3 separate regions of the Homo sapiens genome follow, and all the other regions are linked to region 3. Evidence: promoter capture Hi-C in 16 types of primary human blood cells and fetal thymus (Javierre and others, 2016). All regions are on one chromosome and are shown on one strand. The core of a region is centred on a gene start or on the middle of the fragment in contact, and the rest is flanking DNA. Distances in the headings are between cores, read along the strand shown. Region 1 holds the start of FPR1 (formyl peptide receptor 1). Region 2 holds the start of NAPSA (napsin A aspartic peptidase). Region 3 holds the start of SIGLEC7 (sialic acid binding Ig like lectin 7).

What was found. Contacts are between HindIII fragments. The CHiCAGO score rates a contact against its expected background, and 5 or more counts as called.
Region 1: the fragment with the promoter of FPR1 here is called in contact with the fragment with the promoter of SIGLEC7 in region 3 in 13 of 17 cell types (neutrophils, erythroblasts, M1 macrophages and 10 more); the score reaches 15.6 in neutrophils.
Region 2: the fragment with the promoter of NAPSA here is called in contact with the fragment with the promoter of SIGLEC7 in region 3 in 3 of 17 cell types (non-activated CD4 T cells, total CD8 T cells and M0 macrophages); the score reaches 6.8 in non-activated CD4 T cells.

The regions. Positions count from the first base shown.
Region 1 is chr19:51,750,585-51,753,284 of GRCh38, forward strand. FPR1 (formyl peptide receptor 1) reads right to left here and starts at 1,294. Exons shown (of 2, transcript NM_002029.4): 1 at 1,230-1,294. The HindIII fragment of the contact is 1,877 bases long and covers 488-2,364 here.
Region 2 is chr19:50,364,237-50,367,039 of GRCh38, forward strand. It overlaps NAPSA (napsin A aspartic peptidase), which reads right to left and starts at 1,403. Exons shown (of 9, transcript NM_004851.3): 1 at 1,303-1,403. The coding sequence starts at 1,385. All of the region lies in intron 3 of LOC105372437 (a long non-coding RNA gene), which reads left to right. RefSeq lists an enhancer at 1,604-1,753. The HindIII fragment of the contact is 17,836 bases long and covers 1-2,803 here.
Region 3 is chr19:51,140,866-51,143,565 of GRCh38, forward strand. SIGLEC7 (sialic acid binding Ig like lectin 7) reads left to right here and starts at 1,436. Exons shown (of 7, transcript NM_014385.4): 1 at 1,436-1,937. The coding sequence starts at 1,505. The HindIII fragment of the contact is 9,764 bases long and covers 1-2,700 here.

The sequences.
Region 1 (2,700 bases), core at 44-2,543, 610 kb after region 3:
TCTAAGGCAACCAGTTCAGAAGATTGTTGCAATGAATGATGAGGATTCTGCAATAATGAGCTGGAACATACCAGAGAGGAAAACCTGTGCAATTTTGTCCAATTATGGTTCAAGGGAAAAATCCTGTGATTTGCAATGAACACAGGCCTTGGTGGCTGCCATCGATGAAGGACTTTATGCTTGATAATCATTGTACCACATCCTCAACTTTCTTGCCTCTGATCTCAACAAACTCAGCATTGATTATACATCATCATCCCTGTGTGACGGAAGAGGAAACTAGGAGCTTGATGAGAAATGACAGCCAATGTCTGCAGATTCATGAGAGGGCAGGGCTGTATTCCGCTACTGGGTCCTATGCACCATGCAGAACCAGTGTCTTCACGTGGAGACTCATCACTGATCCGAAAGGTGACTGCTTCTGTATTACACTCATTTCCCCATGACCCATCATAAAGTCGTTAGGGCTCTTTTGCTTTCTCCTGAAAGCTTCAAACCAAACATCCTTTCCCATCCCGACTCAAGCCCTCAAGCTGATGCCCTTGCCTCTTGCTCCACCAGATTCTCCTCCTGCTGGCTCCTGCATCACTGTTCTCTGCCCTCATCTCTGTAACCAGAAAACAAGTGTTTCCATCCAAGAATTACCCTCTACTGGTCCCATAAAACTCATTCCCCCATTTACTCAAGAACTTCCCTCCTTCACTTATCCCTTCTCTCTCCTGCAGCCTCATAGTGTCTCTATATTCCATCATTCCCATCAGGACCCCAATAAAGTCTAGAGCCTATTTGTTTATTTATTTATTTACTTATTTATTTGAGATGGAGTCTCACTCTGTCACCTAGGCTGGAGTACAGTGGTGCAATCTGAGCTCACTGCAACCTCCACCTCCCAGATTCAAGCAATTCTCCTGCCTCAGCCTCCCAAGTAGCTTGAATTACAGACGCCCACCACCACGCCTGGCTAATTTTTGTATTTTTAATAGAAGTGAGGTTTCAACATGTTGGCCAGGCTGGTCTCGAACTCCTGACCTCAAGTTATCCACCTGCCTTGGCCTCCCAAAGTGCTGGGATTACAAGCATGAGTCACCGTGCCCGGCCTGTTTAGAACCTCTTTAAAAAAATTATTCTTCAACTCCACATCCTTCTTCAAACAAAGAGTCTATTGTGTTCACCAGTGTATTAAGTGTGTCTATGTCAAGCTACCCAGTCCCCCAGAATATGTTTCTTACCTGGACTGTTCACCAGCTGTGGTCTTGCTCTGGGTAGTTCTAGGTCTGGGTCTCCTGGGGAGAGTGACTCAGGCTCTAATGATTGCAGCAAAACATACACCAAGGAACAGGAGGAGGGGTAAAGGAACTAAAACCAGCTGGGTAGCAGGAAATAGGAAGTCTGAGCTTCTTCTGATTTTTGATGGCCCCAAGAATACACCAATATACTGTCTGCTTTAATGGCATTAGGACAGTGGGCTGGGCCTGTTTAGAAACTCATGTACCTGACTGTATTTCTCAGCCTCAGTCTCTGTGGGATGCAGAGGTTCAGTGCTCTCAACAACAAGGGCCAAGAAATCCAAGTGTCCGGGCCCCTGCTCCCTCCAAGGGTCAAGGTAAAGAAAGCAGCAAGCACTGTGGTGAGAAGAATCAGAGGGAGGCAATGAAAGGAAGAGAAGAAGTCATGAGGGATGGAGACCAGAAACACAGAGAGAGGTAAGGGAGTGGGGGAAGTTGAGACAGTTGGCAGGACAGCGCGTCCACACCCATGCACACCACCAAGATTAACCCCATAATCCTCTGATCTTGTGGAAGCTCATTTGTAGTCTTCTAGCCCAAAGAAATAACCGTTTTTCTGAAATGTTAAGCATCCTTCCAAGGGTATCAGAGTGATATGGAGAAATATGGTAAGACAGTTACAGAATCAGAGATAACGACACTGATTCTAAAAGCATTATTACCAAGGCATTGTTGCATTAAGACTGTTTTTTCTTTTCTTTTAGAGACAGTATCCTGCTACGTTGCCCAGGCATGTCTCAGACCCCTGGGTTTAGTGATCCTCCTGCCTCAGCCTCCCCAAATGCTGGGATTACAGGCATGAGCCGGGCTGTTTTTAATTCTAAGTAATTTATAATTTACAATTACACCTAACAATGGCTTCAACAAGGGGTGTCCAATCTTTTGCCTTCCCTGGGCCACACTGGAAGAAGAAGAATTGTCTTGGGCCACACATAAAATACACTAACACTAACGATACCTGATGAGCTAAAAAAAAAAAAAAAAAAAAAAATCCCCCAAAAATCTGATAATGTTTTAAGAAAGTTTATGAATTTGTGTTGGGCTGCATTCAAAGCCATCTTAGGCCATGGGCTGGACAAGCTTAGCTTAGAACCAAGACGAAATTTATGGTTTACTTTACAAGAATTTTGCAAGAGGGTAATACTAGGTTAGGTTATATCTGGAAAATATCATCAAGAACTACATTCATTTTAATCTTTTCTCTTTTTTATCCCTAATATGGTGACTTTTTTTCCTGGGGATTGCCACTTCATGGCTCCAAGAAAGCTACCACAGCTCCTGACTTCACATTACAGCAGGGGTCCCCAACCTCCAGGCCATAGACCAATACACAGACCGATACCGGTCTGTGGCCTGTTAGGAAGTGGGCTGCACAGCAGGTGACTGGCAGGTGAGCAAGAGAAGCTTCATCTGT
Region 2 (2,803 bases), core at 153-2,652, 780 kb before region 3:
CCTGGGAGGTGGAGGTTGCAGTGAGCTGAGATCGCGCCATTGCACTCCAGCCTGGGCGACAGGGCAAGACTCCGTCTCAAAAAAAAAAAAAAAAAAAGGCCAGGCGCGGTGGCTTACGCCTGTAATCCCAGCACTTTGCGAGGCTGAGGTGGGTGGATCACGAGGTCAGGAGATCGAGACCATCCTGGCTAACACTGTGAAACCCCATCTCTACTAAAAATACAAAAAATTAGCCGGGCGTGGTGGCGGGTGCCTGTAGTCCCAGCTGCTTGGGAGGCTGAGGCAGGAGAATGATGTGAACCCGGGGGACAGAGCTTGCAGTGAGCCAAGATTGCGCCACTGCACTCCAGCCTGGGCAACAGAGTGAGACTCAGTCTCAAAAAAAAAAAAAAAAAAAAAGTCCTGAGAGGAGGGGGAGGGGTCCTCAATCTAGAGTCTCAGTGTTGTAAGATCTGGGACTTAAAAGGGCTCTGGGACCGGACGCGGGGGCTCACAGCTGTAACCACAGCACTTTTGGAGGCTGAGGCGGAAAGATCACTTGAGGTCAGGAGTTCAAGACAGCCTGGCAAACATGGCGAAACCCCATCTCTACTAAAAATACAAAAATTAGCCGGGCGTGGTGGCATGTGCCTGTAGTCCCAGCTACTTGGGAGGCTGAGGCAGGAGAATCACTTGAACCCGGGAGGCAGAGGTTGCAGTGAGCTGAGATCGCCCCACTGCACTCCAGCCTGGGTAACAGAGCAAGACTCTGTCTCAAATAATAATAATAATAATAAATAATAATAATAATAATAATAATAATAAAAGGGCTCTGGTCAGCCAGGCGCGGTGGCTCACGCCTGTAATCCCAGCACTTTGGGAGGCCGAGGTGAGCGGATCACGAGGTCAGGGGTTCCAGACCAGCCTGGCCAACATGGTGAAACCCCGTCTCTACTAAAAATACAAAAATTAGCTGAGCATGGTGGCGCGAGCCTGTAATCCCAGCTACTTGGGAAGCTGAGGCAGGAGAATCGCTTGAACCCAGGAGGCAGAGGTTTCAGTGAGCTGAGATCATGCCATTGCACTCCAGCCTGGGCAACAGAGTGAGACTCCATCTCAAAAAAAAGAAATCTGGTCTTAAGAGATGTCAGAGTGGAGCCCTTAGGGGTGACAGCCTGGTTTAGAGATCTGGAAAGCTGAGAAAGAAGCTCTAGGGATCCTGGGTGCCAAGTTTGGGGATCACTGAACTGGGAGTCCTAGACTTAAAGGGCAAGAGGCAGAAAATCCCTCCTAAGGTTGGGGTGGTAGATGGGGTCACCATACCGGATCAGTGTGGCCCCGGAAGGCTCCACATTCAGCAGAGGCAGCAGCAGCAGCAGGGGTTGCAGCAGCGGTGGTGGAGACATCGCTGGGGACCTGGGTGTGAACCCAGGTGTCCTGGGGCCTCATTTTCTTTCCCCTGTGACTCCACCCTGTTCATGCCCCACCTCCAGGTTTAGAAGGAGACCAGGACATGAAATCTGTCCGCAGGTGACGCAGTGGGACAAGGATGTTTTTTGAAGATTTGTGCAGAGTATTTTTGTAGGGTTGGCAGAAGTAGCATCCTGTGCTCCTGGTGCTCCTCACTCCCTACTTGGGTGGCAGTGGTGGTGGGGTCTCCTCCACCGTCACCACCTCCCACCCCCCCATCCTTCAGCTGCTGTCAGTTTTACTTTTAACTTTCACATAACTTTTCTGAGACTTATTAACCACAAGTGTTTCCTTGGCCAAGTGGGAGAGACCAGCAGGTATCTGTGAAGGGCCTGGGGGAAGGGAGAAAGGACATGATTAGACACCTGCCCTCACATATGAAGTGGGCCCGCATTTCAGGACCCAGTCTCTTACTGTTTTATTTGTAGGTGAAGTATGTTTCTTGTTGACAACAGATCATTGGGTATTGTTTTTTGTTTGTTTGTTTTTGTTTTTGTTTTTTGGTTTTTTTTTTTTTGAGACCGAGTTTCACTCTTGTTGCCCAGGCTGGGATTACAGGCATGCGCAACCACGCCCCACTAATTTTGTAGTTTTAGTAGAGACAGGGTTTCTCCATGTTGGTCAGGCTGGTCTAGAACTCCCGACCTCAGGTGATCCGCCCGCCTCAGCCTCCTAAAGTGCTGGGATTACAGGCGTGAGCCACTGCACCCAGCTGATTCTCAATTATTTCAATCTCTTTGTTAAATTTATGTGATGGAATCTGAATTCCTTCTGTGTGTTAGCTTGAATTTCTTTGAGTTTCCTCAAAACAGCTATTTTAAATTCTCTGTCGGAAAGGTCACATATCTCTGTTTCTTCAAGGATTGGTCCTTGGTGGCTTATTTGATTTGTTTGGTAAGGTCATTTATTCTGGATGGCCTTGATGCTTATAGATGTTCATTGGTGGCTGGGCATTGATGAGTTATTTATTTATTTATTTATTTATTTATTTATTTATTTATTTAGATGGAGTTTTGCTCTTGTTGCCCAAGCTGCAGTGCAATGGTGTGATCTCAGCTCACTGCAACCTCTGCCTCCCAGGTGCAAGTAATTCTGCCTCAGCCTCCCGAGTAGCTGGGACTACAGGCACCCGATACCACCCTGGCTAAATTTTTTTTTTTTTTTTGAGATGGAGTTTCACTCTTATTGCCTAGGCTGGAGTGTAATGGCGCCATCTTGGCTCACTGCAACCTCTGCCTCCTGAGTTCAAGCGATTGTCCTGTCTCAGCCTCCCAAGTAGCTGGGATTATAGGCGCATGCCAGCTAGTTTTTGTATTTTTAGTAAAGACAGGGTTTCATCATATTGGTCAGGCTG
Region 3 (2,700 bases), core at 186-2,685:
TCAGGAAAACCTACGTGAAGTTAGAATTTTCAAGGCAGCATGTGCCGATGATAAAACTACATAGAACAGCAGGAAGACTATTATCATTAAAGTGAGGCTAGGGGCTCCTTCAGGAGGGAGCGGGGGCATGGCCAATAGGAAAGGGGAATGTAAGGGTGAATGAATTAATAAAATCTCTTTCTTCATTTCAAGGGACAGACTTGACAGTTCTTTTGTGTTCTAGTTCTTCAAGGGTGCTTATTTTGTGTGAATCACTGAGTTGGTTTTTAGGGGACACTTTTATGTACATGTCTTGTGTTTCTCCCCGCTCAAAAAAAACTGTTTCAAGAAAAGCTGGCCTGGATCTAAGGGGGCTGCAGCTTGCAGGATTTTTCCCACTTCCTCCCAGCCCAGTCACACAGTTTAAAATAATCTTCTGTTGAAGTCAGGTGCGTGTTTCTTCTCTCAGAAAATCGCGCCCATCACTGAGGGTGGACGCCCCGGGGCTGGTGTCTTTGCTCCACGTCTCCTGTTCACCTGAACCCCTAGGAGCAGTTCCTGCAGGAGCAAAGCCCCAGGGCCAGCAGACCCCTCACACTCTGCACTAACCAGGCCTCATGAGATAGCAGTGGTGAAGGGAAATGTCCTTGTGCTCAGAGAGCTGTGAGGATGGGAATAGTGTCTGCTCTTTTCATATTGATCCTTTCCCTTATGACTTTCCTGTCTACCAAGCCCCACAATACAACAATCACAGCCTCAGCTTCCCCGGCCTCCTGCAGGCTGGGCTCCCCTCCGTGTCCTTGGCGTGTATCAACAGGCGCAATCCTCACCTTCACAGCCCCATGTCCGTCTGCTCGGTCCTCCTGAGACTGAACCCCCGACCTAGGGGAGAGTGACCCCACCCTGCCTGTGCCCCCCACTGAAGCTCCTGTCATGGGGAGCTCAAACGTCAGGAGACTCAGTGTCTCCCCACCACACAGTGACTCCTTGGGGACAGTGTCCGGCTCTGCTGTGTTGACCTCATTGTGCAGAAAGGGGGTGCCCACCTCGTGGCTGCTGAGGGAGGGATGAGAGGCTGCCTGTTCACCCCACCTGCACCCCTGTCTCTCATGGCCCCGAGTCCCACTTCTGAGCTACGCAGACATCCACAGCCTGTGACTCAGGGGTCTGGGCAGATGGGAGTTATTTTCACCCTGCAGAAAATATCACCTAAAGGGAAAGGCATTGAGAGGGAGGCAGGAGGTGGGGTGGGCCCTGCATGGGGTGGGAATCTGGGTGAGTCTGTCTCCCGCTCTGGCCTCAGGGACCCAGGAGTGAATGTCGGGTGGTGGACGGTGGATCTCCCAGGGCTGACCCAGCCCTGACAGTGTCTGTGTGTGAAGTTCTTCTTCTAAGGAGGTCACTGTTTTGACCTCACCACCGACTTCCTGTAGGGCCTCTTCTAAGTCTTGAGCCCGCAGTTCCTGAGAGAAGAACCCTGAGGAACAGACGTTCCCTCGCGGCCCTGGCACCTCCAACCCCAGATATGCTGCTGCTGCTGCTGCTGCCCCTGCTCTGGGGGAGGGAGAGGGTGGAAGGACAGAAGAGTAACCGGAAGGATTACTCGCTGACGATGCAGAGTTCCGTGACCGTGCAAGAGGGCATGTGTGTCCATGTGCGCTGCTCCTTCTCCTACCCAGTGGACAGCCAGACTGACTCTGACCCAGTTCATGGCTACTGGTTCCGGGCAGGGAATGATATAAGCTGGAAGGCTCCAGTGGCCACAAACAACCCAGCTTGGGCAGTGCAGGAGGAAACTCGGGACCGATTCCACCTCCTTGGGGACCCACAGACCAAAAATTGCACCCTGAGCATCAGAGATGCCAGAATGAGTGATGCGGGGAGATACTTCTTTCGTATGGAGAAAGGAAATATAAAATGGAATTATAAATATGACCAGCTCTCTGTGAACGTGACAGGTAAGGCACGGGCTCCAAGAGAGGCCAAAGGCAAATGTGATGAGGGCTTTAGGGCACGGCTGAGACGGGACACATGTCCTGGGAGGGGGCCGGGGGTGATGGACTCAGGAGAGGAGCTGGACCAGAGCCTGAGCTTCCCCAGGACCGCACCTTGGATGCCCCTCCTGATCCTGCAGGCCCCTCCCCTCACCAGCCCTGACCCACAGGCCTGACATCCTCATCCTGCCTCTGACGCTGGCATTGTGGCATGTGGGGCCTTATGACTCCTTGTTTTGGGGCCTGTCCTAGGCATGGCCGGGGTTTAGCACCATCCCAGGCCTCTCCCCACCAGATGCCAGAAGCACCCACTCCACCCATGCAGTGAGACAATAACAATTATCTCCACACATTGTTAAACGTCCTGGGGGGTTAAGTCCTCCCCAGTTGAGAGCCTTAGGTCTACACAACCCCGTGACTCTCTCAGGCCAGGCCAGGGAGGAAGCACTTCCTGGCGCAAACCAAGGGCAGCAGAGGCACCTGAGCCTGGACAGGGAGACTCAGCACACGGCCCCTCCATCTCTCATGCCCTGAGGTCCTCGGAGATCCACATTTAGATGCTCAAAAGACAGGAGGGACCTCCACGATGGTCCAGAGGCCGGGAGGGCAGGACCTACGTGTCTGGTGCAGGCCCTGGTGCTCCAGGGAAGCCCGGAGGTAGGAGGTGGGACACGGTCTCTTCTCCTCCCTGGGTGGGTCTCTAGGGTCTCTGAGCTTCAGGGTTTCC